Linked DNA regions of Homo sapiens: all the other regions are linked to region 2. The links are contacts of gene promoters, found by promoter capture Hi-C in blood cells and fetal thymus (Javierre and others, 2016). All regions are on one chromosome and are shown on one strand. The core of a region is centred on a gene start or on the middle of the fragment in contact, and the rest is flanking DNA. Distances in the headings are between cores, read along the strand shown.

Region 1 (4,462 bases), core at 1,197-3,696, 290 kb before region 2:
AGAAGCAAAGCAGCCCTGACTCACTGCCTGCCACCAGTGTCTGTGGGAGGGGCCTCCCCGAGATGGGACACCTGTAGCCACCAGTTCTATGTGCAGCCAGGGAGACTGGGAGCTCAGTTCTACCCTCCTCCACCCCCCAGCCCACCTGGGTGGTGGCCAGTGGAGGGTCAGTTAGGGCCCAGGGAGTGACAGACAGGTGACCCCCTGCCCGGCACTGCTGCCCTCACCCCCACCGGGCATACTGGCATACGCGGGGTGCCCAGGCAACTACAGAAGCTTAGCTGGGAGGCTGGCGATGCTGGTGTGTGGGGAGTTGGGGGGACAGCCAGCCACCCTGGCCCCTCTAGCTGGGCAGAGGTAGGCGACTCTGCCCGGATCCTTCACCCTCTGGCTTCCTTAGCCCACCAGAAATGGAGGAAACCCCACACTTCTAAGGCTGCTCATTTCCAAGATGCCTTTCAAAGTTCCCGACCGGCCCTGACTTCCTCCCTGGACACCAGCCTCCTGCTCGGGGCTTTGGTTTGATCAGCCCTCCCCTCCAGCACTGGAACCCCCCGTGCCACGAACCTCAGCCAAACTGATTCCCAAGGGGGCTTCCCACCCGCATTCCCACGGCGCTTTGCTCAGACCCTTGGAGGGCCCTTAGTCACTCGGCTCCAGTTTTACACACCTCACCACAACACCGCCGCCACACGCAGATCCTCACAACCTTCCCCGCAGAAACATCGTCCCCACCATCCCGCAATAATAGTGCCTGTGAGCCCTTCTATGTGTCAGGGGCCATGCAAACACTTCCCACGCGTCCTCTCTCCAATGCTCTACCTTCTGAGGTCAATGCTATCACTACCCCATCACACAGATGGGAAAGCTGAGGCTAAACTAGGAACTGGCCCAACACGGCATCAGGTTCTGTTCTGACTCCCAAGTTTGGGTCAGGGCAGGCAGCTGGGAGGCACCGGCAGAGCCAGTCTGGGGGCTTCTCTGCAGAGGAAGGAACATCACCTGTTGGTGGCACAGTCTTTTGAGAAGCTGATGAAAGTGTTACTCTTCCTTTGGAGACGCAGGTGCCAGCGCACATGTTTCCATTAGGCTTAAGGAATTCAGAGATGTCCGAGGCCCAGCCACCAACACCAGAGAGGTCACAGGCAGGGGCTCCATCCCCTCAACAGGAGGGAAGAAGATAGGGGCTGAGCCTGGCAACTCTGGAGCTGCCCCCAAGCTGCCCCAACCGCCTTCCCAGCCTCGCAGGAGTAGACTGTCTCTGTGACATCTCTCCCACTCCCTACCCAGAAGGCACACCACTGGCACTGCTTTTGGGGTGAAGGAGAGGGGAGCCCCGGGGCTGGTTACTGAGGCTCACCTGTATGACGACCTTGACGGTGGCAGTGTGGATGGTGGGGGTGCACACCAGGCCGCCGGCGTGCTGGCCGTCGGCGCTGCGGTTCTGCTCGCCCATGGTGAACAGCATAGGCACCGCCAGCAGGGCCGAGGCGAGCCAGATGGCGCTGATGAACTTCTTGGTGCGGCTTCGGGACATGAGGGTCTTGGCCTTGAAGGGGTGGCAGATGGCCAGGTAGCGCTCCACACTCAGGCTGGCCACGTTGAGGGCCGTGGCGTAGGTGCAGGCGTCGCGCAGGAAGTAGTAGCCGCGGCAGCCGGCGTCGCCGAAGGCCCAGGGGTGGTGCACCCAGATGAAGTTGTACAGCTCCACGGGCATGGCCAGCAGCAGGGTGAGCAGGTCGGACAGCGCCAGGCTGCCCAGGTGGTAATGCACCGTGCTCTGCAGGCTCTGCAGCGACTTCTTCCGCGCCAGCGTGAACGCCGTCACCGTGTTGCCCACCGTGCCCACCACGAAGAGCGCCAGGTACACGGCGGTCACCAGCACCTTGGAGTAGATGTCGGTGTTCACGTCCAGCTCGCTGCTGGGTGCCGCCAGGACGCGCTCCGACGCGTTGCCCGAAGCGTTGCCGAAGCCCGGGGCCAGCAGCGCCTCCTCCAGTCCGGCCTGCGCCCGCTGGAAGGGGTCGGCGGCCGGCGTGCCCGGGGTTCCCGGCGCGGAGCTGTTGAGGCGCATGGTGGGCGCTGGAGTCCGCGGCTCTGTCCGGCGCCTCCGGGGCTGGAAGTCCGGGCAGGAGTGGGCGCGTCTCAGGCGGGGACCGATGAACGGGAGCCCAGGGGAGGGCGCGTGGCGAAGACCAGCGGGCGCGCCGTCCAGTCGGGAAGCGCCAGACCCAGACGCGCCGCCCCGGGCTCCGGGCTCCGGGCTCCGCTCTCCTCCGGACTCCCAGCTTCCGGCTCCTAGCTCCAGAACCCGTGGTTCCTCGGGCTGTCTCCCGGCTCGGCGCTTGCCACGGGTTCCAGGTGCCTCCGATCTCCAAACCGCGCGGTTCCCCAGGCCCCCGAGGACAGCGCCCAGCCCGGCTCGGGCTGCGCGGGGCGAGCTTGTGGCGCCGGGAGGAGCGCACGCACTGCTGCCCGGGCGCGCTCCCCTCCCTCGCTCAGAATCTCCTCCCTCGCGCTCTCCGCGCACCCCAGCCCCGCACACCTCCCGCCGCGCCCGCGCCCTCCCGGCTCTGCGCGTCTCCACGGAGCCGGCGGCCGCGCGGCGCGCCCAGCAGTGGGGGGTGGCGGCGGAGGAGGGAGGCAGCCCCCGCCGCCATCCCCGCCCCGCCCGGGTGCAGCCTGGCGGGTCGCCCCCTCGCGCTCCCCGGGGCAGGGCGGGCTGGGGTGAGCGCTCCAGGGAACCAGGATTCCGAGCGGGCGCGGCGGGTATCGTGCACCAGACCCTTCCTGCCACCCTCTTCCCTGTTCTCCGCAATTTCTCGCACCGGCTAGGAAGGGAACTATGCACCTCCCCCAACCCTGGGCTCGCTCAGTTGGGGTGAGGGTGTATCCGGAGGGCAGGGAGGGAGGAAGCTCCCCGCTGGCAGGGCTGGGCGGCTGCGCAGCTGGTTGGGCCGACCCCCACTCCTGGGTGTCCACAGGGTGCCAGAAGCTGGGTGCCCAGGGGGCTCTAGGACCACTGGAGATTACATTTCTGGTGATTCCTTTTAAAATCTGGCCGCAGTCATGGGCGTGCCTGGTCTGTGAATGCGTATTTCTGGGATGTGCCCAGTGGAAATGGTGGGGGCTCAGGGCATAGTTATCACCTGGGGCAGGATGGCGTGAGGCAGTACCGAGGGACACCTGCAGGGGCTGAGGAGCTGAGGGGCTGGGTCCTGCAGAGGCCGGGAGCCACAGATGGTTTCATCAAAGTCTGGGGAGGGGTGAATGAGGGAGGGCAGAAAGCAGGTGCCCAGAGCAGCACCCTCCCCACTCAGGGCCCTGCATCTGGCACCCTGGGCTGGTCTCATGACGCTATGGGATGTGATGCCCTGGGCCCCTTATTACTGCCTGGATTTGTCATCAGAAGCCACCCTGAGAGCCTGCGCCCCAGCAGGATTTGGGAGAGGCAGCCCCAGCACGCATCCTCCCAGGCCCTGCAGGCTTTGCACACTCCCTCCCTCTGAGTGTCCTCACAGGGTGCCCCGGCCCCTGGCTCGGGAGCCAGGTGAGGGCAAGATTCCTGTCCTTTCCGTGTCCCCCCCAGCACCTGGTGGCACTGGCATAGGTGGCCAGGCACAAGCTTGCCCCCCCCTCCATGTCTGGGTTGCCCAGGGGCCCCCAGGGCACTACTGTCCCTTCTCTGGGCCCTCCCCGCCCCCTCCCCTGCTCCCTCCTCCCCAGAACCCCTGGGAGAGGTTGGGTAGAGCTGCTGCCCCATGTGTGCAGGGCTGGGAGGAGCTGCTCGAGTGCAGCCCAGGGAACCAGCCTGGCCTTTGTGCACATGGCTGGCTGCACCTGCTGTGCTGGGAGCAGGAAACCTGGGCAGGCTGGGGCGGGGGTCGCAGGGTGTTGAGGGAAGCGGGAGGCTGAGGAACCCCCTCCCGGGCCCGCCCAGCTAGGAGAATTCAAGGCTTCTGAGCCGGTGGCTGGCAGCGGGACTCTGTGATTATTCGTCCGTTCTCGCCCTGCTTTGGACTTCTCTGTTCAACCGGAGCCTGATACTCTTGTCAGGGGGCTGCAGCTCACAAACATCAGAGCTTAGAAATCTTGGCATCAAAGGAAACGCCAGTGATCCCTTTGCTGGAAGCCAGTAGATAGGATTGAATGTTGGCCCTGCTACTTCACATTTGGGCGAGTGTGCTTAGCGTCTCTGTGCCTCGATTGAGTCGTCTGTAAAATGGGAATAGCGGCTGAATGAAGGGCAGGGCTGTTACTGATGGGTCTCCACGGGGAATGAACGAGGTCGAATGGGCTGTCGGGTGTGAGGTGAGGTGTTCCATCCAACTAGAATAGGCTGGAGTAGGCCAGATTTGTCCTCTGGAAGACACGATTCACCAGTTAAGTACACAGGTTTTTTTATTTTTTTATTTTTTTTATTTGTTGAGATGGAGTCTCGCTCTGTCACCCAGGCTCGAGG
Region 2 (4,491 bases), core at 629-3,128:
TGTGTTGTGTGTATACATGCTGTGTGGTGTGTCTGTCTTTGTGCATGTGTGTTATGTGTGTACATGCTCTGTGTGTGTCTTTTGCATATATGTGCATGTGTGTTGTGTGCACATGCTATCTGTGTGTGTGTGTGTGTGTGTGTGTGTGTGTGTGTGTGTGTGTGCCTGTGGGACAGGATTGAAGCTGCCACGGCATTGGAGGGGGACAGAGATCCCAGGAGGGAACTGAGTACAGGGCTCTGGTGAGAGGGAAGGAGGTGCTGTGACAGTGGTGTTGGGGCCGGGGTGTGGACAGTGGCATGGTAGGGTCTGTGGGGCTCTTACTGGTGAGGTCTGACTCCCAGCTTCACAGCTGGGCAGGTGCCACCAGCACCATCCAGCTCTTGCCAGGCTTCCCTGTCCCTCCATTGAGGTGCCAGGGGAAGGGCTTATGTGGGGACAGGCCAGGCACTGATGGGCTGGATACCTGGGGAGAACGGGGTGGCTCAGAGGTGCCGGCACTCACCCCAGATGCTCCCTGGCCCCTCCAGCCCCTCCCGCACGGCAGCCAGCACCCTGCCCTCTGGCCCCCGGCCACATACGTGTGGGAGGAAGCCACACAATGTACTATCTCTGTGCCTGCCCGTGGGGTTCGGGAGCCTCCAGGCCACCTCCCATGAGTAGCCCCTACAGCATGGCATGGGGTCTGCTCCATACAGACACAAGGAGCCCCAATCCTCTCCTGGACTCCACAGCCCACAAGCCCTTCCTGAGCGGATCCCTGTCCCCTCTTCCTCCTCTTCAGGATGGACACAGAGGGGCAGTAGAGGCTGCAGGCGTCTCCACAACCCCAGCGCAGAGGGGCCCGGGCCAGGGCCACAGGGAGCCATGGAGAGCTTCATGGAGTCGCTGAACAGGCTGAAGGAGATCCACGAGAAGGAAGTCCTGGGTGAGGGGCCAGGGACAGATGCCAGGCTAGGGAGGGGTCTCCACAGCCCTCACCTAAGGGTCGGAGCAGGCCACTGTGCACCCATGATCACCTCCAATTCCCACCAAGTCAGGGAATGGACCCCGTCTTTTTGGCCCAGGCAGGGGAGTCCTGACCCAAGGCCCAGAGCTACAACGTGGCAGACACCCTGCCTGGGCCCGAGTGCTGACCTCAAGCGGGGATGTCCTCGAGCCACTCCCAGAGTGTGACCCCGAGGGGGAGGGGCACTTTCAAGGGTTGCCACCAACACCTCATGGCCACCTGCCACCCGCAGGCCCCATGCTGCCCATGCTTTGTTCTCCCGTGGGCCGGCCTCCAGCGTGGCAGAAAGAAGTACCCACCCTGGCCGGCCTGCTGAGCTCACCAGGGCAGAGACAGCCACTTCCAGAAACAGGAGCTTATGGCTCTCTGGACCCATCCAGAACATGTCAAGGCACTGAGCTGCAACTCTTCTCTTCCTTCTAGGACACGCCCCAGGCCCCACCCCTGTCCACTTCCCCCACGAGGGACAGGGCCGCAGCCCCCACACCACCCCCAGTCCAGTCCCAGGGCCAGCACCTCCCCGTGGTCTTTCCACTGAGCACCCACACCCACCTGGAGGTCCAAGGACCCGGCTGCCTCCTAGGCAACCCAGAGAGGTGGGGCTGCTGGGGCTAGCCAGGCCCAGGTTGGATCCCCAAGATACGGCAAGGAGAGGGTCTGGTGGGGTCCGCCCCAGAAGCTTATCTTATTTCAACACTAGCTATGACACACACACACACACAAAATGGCCCCTCGGTCCCTCTACCTTTCACAGGTGGCTGGTCACTTGTGGCACCAGGGTCCCTGCTCACCCCCAGACACCCCCAGACAGATGCCGGAGGCAGAGACCCCAGGGGAAGCAACAGATGCTAGGCCGAGACCACCGAGCCTCAGGCAGCCCCGTGCCTGGGCACAGACAGGGGCTCACCTGGCAGGGCTCCCCCAGGGGGTGCAGGGGACAGGAGTGCCACATTGCAGCTCTGCCCAGACCCCGTGGTGGGGACACTGAAGGTGAAGCAGCAGCTGGGCCTGACCCCCCGCCCCTCTGCTTGCTCCCCCAGGCCTGCAGAACAAGCTTCTGGAACTGAACTCAGAGAGGTGCCGGTGAGTCAGGCCAAGCAGGGCCCCTCCTCACAGGGACCACACTGGCCACTTCATCCCCCTGAAGCCCCAGTGTGCCAGCACTACCACCGTCCTATGGTGCAGAAGGGAAACTGAGGCTCAGTGTGGGGGCGGGGGGAGTCACTTGTCCAAGGTCACACGGTGAGCAGGCAGCGAAGCCAGCACTTGAACCCAGTTGCGTCGGCCTCCCAGGGGCGGGGCAAGCCCCCTACTCGGGGCTTCTCCCACCCCAGGATCATGATCAGAATATCAACAATACGTTCACGGTGAGCTGGGGTCATGTCTGGTCAGACACTGGCGGGCGGGCAGGCTCCCTGCGTTCTGGCTTATAGACCCGGCTATGGTCCTGCCTGTGCTGTGGCACTAAAGTGGTGCGTGGACAGGACAGACGTCACAGAGGAGCGTGCAGATGACAGGGGGGGCGGTGTGTGGACAGGACAGACGTCACAGAGGAGCGTGCAGATGACTGGGGGGGCGTTGCGTGGACAGGACAGACGTCACAGAGGAGCGTGCAGATGACTGGGGGGGCGTTGCGTGGACAGGACAGACGTGACAGAGGAGCGTGCAGATGACTGGGGGGGCGTTGCGTGGACAGGACAGACGTCACAGAGGAGCGTGCAGATGACCGGGGGGGTGGTGTGTGGACAGGACAGACGTCACAGAGGAGCGTGCAGATGACTGGGGGGGCGTTGCGTGGACAGGACAGACATCACAGAGGAGCGTGCAGATGACTGGGGGGGGTGCGTGGACGGGACAGACGTCACAGAGGAGCGTGCAGATGACTGGGGGGGGTGGTGCGTGGACGGAACAGACGTCACAGAGGAGCGTGCAGATGACTGGGGGGGCGTTGCGTGGACGGGACAGACGTCACAGAGGAGCGTGCAGATGACTGGGGGGGCTGCGTGGACGGGACAGACGTCACAGAGGAGCGTGCAGATGACTGGGAGGGGGGCACCGGGTTAGGCGTTGCCCCCAGACCAAGGCTGCAGGTGCCGAATCGCGCTGCCCCCCCAGGCTGGATGGTGGGGACAGCGTGTGGCTTCCTGGATGGAACAGGACCCCACTTTAGCTGTTTCCCACCACAGGGACGCCCAGAGGATCGAGGAGCTCTTCTCCAAGAACCACCAGCTCCGGGAACAGCAGAAGACACTGAAGGAGAACCTGCGGGTGCTGGAGAACAGGTGGGCCTGGGAGGACACCTCGCAGCATGGCCAGGACCGGTGGGCTCAGGAGAGGAGGAGGTGACAGGGCTCCTCGGAGAATGAGTTTGGGAAACTCCAGGATAAACTGAACCAGGAAGGTTTCCCCACTGCAGGACATCTCAGAGCCTTAAGGAAATTGCATTTTCAAGATTTCTCCCCAAACTCAGTGGAACATGGGACACCTAGCCCACGGGGTGGGAAGAGGCCTGGGGCTCTACGGAATAGTTTGCAAAGGGCAGGGGCACTTCCCAGCAGTGGGGCAGTGAGTGTCCCAGGCCCTCTGTGGCTTCCGTGCCATCCCTCACACCCCCTGCGTCCCCATCCCTGCAGGCTGCGGGCCGGCCTGTGCGACCGCTGCATGGTCACCCAGGAGCTGGCCAGGAAGCGGCAGCAGGAGTTCGAGAGCTCCCACCTGCAGAACCTGCAGCGCATCTTCATCCTCAGTGAGCCCCACCCACCAGACAACCGGGGTCCTCTCCCACGGGGCCAGGCGACCCCAGGCCTGTTCAGCCCATGTAGGGGCATGGGGAAAGGAGGCAGGACGATCGGCCCCACACCACTGGGGGAACCTCACAACCCAATCTACAGACAAACACACAAAGCCCCCAGCCGGCGCTGGTGTGGCCCTCCCTCAACACAGCCTCCCTCCCCTGGGCTGGGGGCATCCCGGCCCCCACTGGGCGCGGCCTCCTTCCTGAGATGCGGAAGGTCCTGCAGTGCTGAGGCCCCAGTGGCCCTCCTGATGACCAAGGGCAAGCCCCCTTCCCTCGAGGCCGGCACTGCTCATTCAACAGCATCCAATCAGCCATGCACGCAGCCAGCATCCACGGCGCCCCTGCTGCCTGCCAGGCCCTGGGCTACGTGCTGGGGGCACTGCTGAGGGGCTTCCCTGGTGCTGTGACGACCCCACCCCTGCCCCTGTCCCCCCCAACCCCTGGCTGCTTTGCTCATCAGTGCCTTTTGCAGCCAACGAGATGAACGGGCTGAAGGAAGAGAACGAGACCTTGAAGGAGGAGGTGAAGCGGCTTCGGGGCCTGGGGTGAGTGGGAAAGGGTCCCAGGGCTCAGACACCCAACTCCCCAGCACCCCCCGAGCAGCACCCAGCACACGTCCCTGGGGGAACCGCCCATGGAGGACTCTCAGGCAGTGTCGGGACAGCTGCGTCACCTGGGGTCACCC
Region 3 (5,065 bases), core at 177-2,676, 320 kb before region 2:
GGGTGGGGACACAGCCAAACACATCACGAAGTAACTCCTACGCCAGGTGTGTGCATGTGGCCTGGGCCCTGGTCACAGATGGAAAATGAAGCAGTAAAACAGAGGAGGGTCTCAGCTTGCGGGTCCTATGCTGAGGGTCCAGGTTGTTCCCTGGGAGCCACAGGCCAGGGCCTCGGAGTCCTCGGAGTCCTCGCTGGGAAAGGGGCTCTGCTGGAGGTTTGGGCCCGCCCTGCATAGCTGGGAGCCCTCTCTTTGCCCCACCCACAGGTGGAAGCCACTTCCCTCCTCTCCCAAACCCCCTCTCCTGGTTCCCCAGTTGGAGTGATCCACAGAGGAGATTCTGCGTCTAAACTGGGACTCAGGGAAGCTTCTGGAACTGTGAGAGGGGTTTGGTTCCTGCCTTTCTGAAGACAAAGTGGCGCCTGTCTTTCAGGGCATTGCGCCTGAGGGTACAGAGAGTGGGGCTCTGCCTCTGGGGTCCCAGGGTCTCCCCAGCTGCCAAGGGCAGCAGCCCCAGACCCAGACAGGGAAAGGAGCCTGGCTTCCCTTCCCGCCCTGCTCCATGGGGCAAGTGCAGAGAATCCCCAGCCACGATGCCCCTGCCCGAGGCACCCCAGGCTCCAGGCAGATCTCAGGCCTCCTAACCCAGGCCCTGCCCCGAAGGGACAAGTTTCAGAACAAACTGTCCACTGGGCTAATACCCCGGCTTTTGTGATCACCACATACTGATTTCTATCGAGGGATGAAAATTGACAAATTTAAACGGGAATTACTGGGCTCGGAAATTTGTTCTTTGTAATGAAGGGAACAGTTGAATACAGAATCTGAATTTGGGATTCAGACCAGACCCCCTCAGAGAAAGTGCTGAACCCGTGAGGAATTGGAGGGTAAGGGGAACTGTTCTTGGCAACTCCTGTCCCATTTCCTTTTGGGATGGGGGCTGCTCCCGCCCCCTGCACAGCCCCACAGGTCACAGCGGGGAAGACCCTGTCCCTGGTCCCCGGTCGCAGTGTGTGCCCTTTCCTACTTCCCTGCACGCCAGCCTCAGGAGGTGAGCTCACCTCGCCGTGTCGGGGGGACTCCCGTGTTACCCACCCCCCAAGCCAGGGAGCGGCCTCCAGGGGAGCATGGGGGAGGCTGAGGCCACCTTGCGGGGAGGCTGTTCCTGGGGCTGGGACGCCTCTCTCTGAATCATCCCCGCCCACAGAAGGAATTCATCTCACTCCTAATAATGTGTTTGTCACAAAGACATAATCGGCTCATCTGTGAGACTCCAGCGTGCACAGCGGTGCTGGCTCTTTGTTGTATAGTGGCAGTCTCACTGCAAGGCCGTTGGGCTTTGAGGAAAGGGAAGGAGGCACCCACTCTCTCCCCGGGGGGCCCCTGCCTTCCCTCGCAGTCCCACCTCTTCCGCCTGCCTCCATCACAGCAATTCAAATAACTATGAATGGGGCTACCTGGGAGCCCCACATCCCTGGCTGTGGGAACAGGCTGACCTTCCAGCACAGTGTCCTCCTGGTGCCAGGCACTGCCCCTCTGCCAAGGACCCTGCAGGCCTGGTAGGTCCCCAAGGGCACCCGTGGCCTCCCACCCCCTAACCATGGTTTTGGCACTGAGCTGGCGGCCAGGCGGGGCAGAGGAGGGAGCTGAGCGTCTTTCTTTAGTGTGCACGTCACCGCACACGATGGCACCCCACTGGTTGCTGCCCATCATGCAGGGCTGCCTCCACATGGGGCCTCAGCACCGGCTGGTGCCTGGCACCCCGCACGCGGCACCCCACCCCAAGGGGAGGCTGTACAGGCTCTGGACACACCCCAAAGCCACCCGAGGGCTGCTTCTCATCAGCAGGGAGGGGCTCGGGCAGCACAGTCCCGTGGAAATAGGATGCAGGCCACGTGAGGCTTAAATGTACCAGTAGCTATGTTACAAAAGTGGAAGGAAACAGCTATGATAATTTTAATACGATATCTTATTTAACTTAATGTATTCAAAATATCATATCAACTTGCAACGGTATTAGTGAGCTATTGTATACCGCCTTTCCGCATTAACTCTAAAACCCGGTGCGGATTTCAGGCTGAAGCTCATCTTCACTCAGACCAGCCATGTCTCAATGCCCAGTGGCCACGTGTGGCCCAGGGCTGCCACATTAGACAGGGCTGCCTGCAGCTTTTATGGGAAGCCACCTGGGCCAGGCACACCAGCGCCTGCTCCTCGCTCCCCAGGGGTGGTCTTGGCCCCAGCTCTGCTCAGCAGAGAACCCAGAGCCTCCAGGTCAGCCCCGGACACAGGGCGTGGGCATTGCACAAGGTCAAGAATGAGTTACTCATTTTCAACCACCTAAAAAGATGGCCCCAAAATGAAGCCTGGGTAAGACAAGGGGCCACGTCCTTCCAGGAGCAGAGCTCGGCTTCCTCTGCATCGGCCACAAAGCCCCTACTGCACCGAAGCCCAAGAGCTGAGCCAAGATTTTTTTTTTTTTTTGCGGGGAAGGGGGTCACACTCCAGAGAAGGCTCCAGAAAAGCTCTCATCCCAGACCTCGCTGCCTCCGCCCGCCCCTCACGCCCCATCTCTTGCCCGTCCCCCACCAGGGCTGAAGAGTGAACTCAGTAGTAACCCACGTGGCTGAGCCAGAGAAGGAGGCTGCGCAGGGGACAAGGCGGTCGCTTCCAGGATGAGAAGCGCAGACTCGAGGTCGGGCAAACCTGCCGCCGGCCCCAGCCGTGTGCATCTGAGCAAGTGGCTTCCCCCAGCCTCAGGCTCCTCATCTGTGAAACGAAACCCCCTCCAAGCTGGGCTGGCTCAGCACCCAAAACCATCATTTAAAATGCGACCCTGCCTGGGGGCTGTTCGAATCCTCTATTGAGATAAAGTAGCAATCATACATTCATCAGTCACTACTCCCTGCTGGAGGCCTCTTCCCCAGCACAGAGCCTTCCCTCTCTCAGCTGAGACCCCAGGCAAGGGTAGGGAGAAGAGGGTGCTGTCTCCCTCCCCCTCCTCCCCTCTCTCTCCTCTGTTCCTCCCTTTCTCTCTGTGTCTCTCTCTCCTTCTCTCCCTCTCTTTGTGTTTCTCCCTCTGTTTCTCTCTCTGCCTTTCCCTCTCTCCTCTCTTTCCTTTTCTCTCTCCCTCTCTCTTCTCTATCTCCCTCTTTTTCTCCATGTGTGTATCTCTCCTCCCCATCCCCAGAAGCCAGCCCACATGGCTCACCCTGCATTGCTAGGTGAGACAGGCCTGAGCCCTAAGCCAGGAGTCAGCCACAGCCGAGCTTTCCAGAACTTTCTAGAACCTTCCCTTTCCAAAGTGGAAATCTGGACTAGAAGGCACGATTCCCACTGGGGAGCTGCCAGTGGCTCCCTGCCCAAGGGAAACACAACTGTCCCGAGAGATGCTCATTTGCTCCCGGAAAGGAGCGCAGCAAGCTTCAACCAAGTGCTTCAGGAGGGAACCAAGAGCTTCATTCTTCCCTAATTGGTGCTAATTTTCAGCCTTCCCAGAGCTGTGCCTGGGAGGTGCAGAGGTGCCTCCAGGGTGGCCCTGCGGGGACCGGGATGCACATTTCTCTGTTAGGCTGGTAATCAGCTTGCATTTTCTCTGACAGATCTTCTTCCGAAAGAACGTCTACACACTGCCGATGACATTTACTTCACTCAGAATTTGCAAGTCCAATGCCGACATGAATATGCACGGCACTGCTGCTTGGATACGTGGCCTCAGGGCCACGCCTGCGGGTGATGTGACAAGTCCACAGACTCCCGTGGCGGCTTCTCACCGAGAAACATTCCAGCACCTGGAGGCTGCCAGCTGGGAACCCCCTTTAGGCGACGTCAGCGCCGTTGGTTCTCAGCCTGAGCCGCCCCCTGTGCCCGCTGTGGTCCTCCAGGCCCAGGCAGGGAGAGCCCGAGGAAAAGCAAGCGGAGGGTCAGATGGGGAACCAGCGTGCCTGGAGCCACGCAGGGACACGGACTTAGAATTCTACCTTGCATTTAAGGAACAGATGATAGATACTCTCTACAGTCTCTTCCAGGAAATAGAAGCAGAGGAACACTTTATAACTCACTCTACGAGGCCGGCATTACCCCAATAACAAAACCGAGGATGTTACAAGAAAGGAAAACGCAGACCAGGATGTCTCATGAACACAGATGCAAAAACCCTCAACAAAACAGCAGCAAATCCAGCATCACATACTAAGAATTATACACCACAGGATTTCCCAACCAGCACCACATACTAAGAATTACACAAATAGCAGCGAATCTCATGCAGCGCTACATGGTAAGAATTAGACAGCACAGGATTTATTCCAGGCATGCGAGGCTGCTCCAGGGTTCGGAAACAGATTATCGAAATCCATCATGGCAACAGGAACTATTTTCCAAAACCCAACACCCATCTGTGAGAAAAACCTTTCACAAGCCAGGAATACAAGGGAACTCCCTCAGCTTGGTAGAGAACATCTACTAAAAACCTACAGCCCATGTCATACTCAATGGTGACAAACCTGAAGCTTTTCTTCCTAAGATAGGGAAGGAGGCAGGGAGGCCCCCTATCCTCACTCCTATTTAACGTCATACTGTGAGTTCACAGGATGGACACTACCGATTTCAACACTTGCTATAAAGCCCCAGTTATCGGTACAGTGTAATTTTTTTTTTTTTTTTGAAATGGAGTCTCACTCTGTCGCCCAGGCTGGAGTATGGTGACACAATCTTGGCTCACTGCAGCCTCTGCCTCCTGGGTTCAAGTGATTCTCCTGCCTCAGCCTCTTGAGTACTTGGGATTTCAGGCACCTGCCACCATACCTGGCTAATTTTTGTATTTTTAGTAGAGATGGGGGTTTCACTATATTGGCCAGACTGGCCTCGAACTCCTGACCTCAAGTGATCCACCCGCCTCGGCCTCCCAAAGTGCTGGGATTACAGGCGTGAGCCACCACACCCAGCCAGTAAAGTGTAATCGTGGCTAAAGAACAGACAAATATTCCAATGGAACAGAAAAGAGAGCCCAGAAGTGGACGGACACATGCATGGGCAAATGATCTTTGAGAAAGAAGCAAAAGTT

The links. The method cuts DNA at HindIII sites, captures the fragments that hold promoters and counts their contacts. A CHiCAGO score of 5 or more calls a contact.
Region 1: a contact is called between the fragment with the promoter of NTSR1 here and a fragment that was not itself captured in region 2, in 1 of 17 cell types (M1 macrophages). The highest score is 7.0, in M1 macrophages.
Region 3: a contact is called between the fragment with the promoter of NTSR1-AS1 here and a fragment that was not itself captured in region 2, in 2 of 17 cell types (M1 macrophages and M0 macrophages). The highest score is 6.2, in M1 macrophages.

What each region holds. Positions count from the first base shown.
Region 1 is chr20:62,706,820-62,711,281 of GRCh38, reverse strand. NTSR1 (neurotensin receptor 1) reads right to left here and starts at 2,446. Exons shown (of 4, transcript NM_002531.3): 1 at 1,361-2,446. The coding sequence starts at 2,074. RefSeq lists enhancers at 1,155-1,699, 1,700-2,246, 2,456-2,968, 2,969-3,482. The HindIII fragment of the contact is 3,349 bases long and covers 279-3,627 here.
Region 2 is chr20:62,416,024-62,420,514 of GRCh38, reverse strand. It overlaps RBBP8NL (RBBP8 N-terminal like), which reads left to right. Exons shown (of 14, transcript NM_080833.3): 2 at 785-928; 3 at 2,050-2,092; 4 at 3,196-3,291; 5 at 3,643-3,755; 6 at 4,279-4,351. The coding sequence starts at 868. Among named protein-coding and RNA genes, the nearest start is that of RBBP8NL, 9.3 kb to the left of the region's middle. The HindIII fragment of the contact is 375 bases long and covers 1,691-2,065 here.
Region 3 is chr20:62,731,720-62,736,784 of GRCh38, reverse strand. NTSR1-AS1 (NTSR1 antisense RNA 1) reads left to right here and starts at 1,426. Exons shown (of 2, transcript NR_199009.1): 1 at 1,426-1,559; 2 at 3,603-5,065. The region is part of intron 1 of NTSR1 (neurotensin receptor 1); the gene reads right to left. RefSeq lists an enhancer at 1,157-2,002. The HindIII fragment of the contact is 3,056 bases long and covers 370-3,425 here.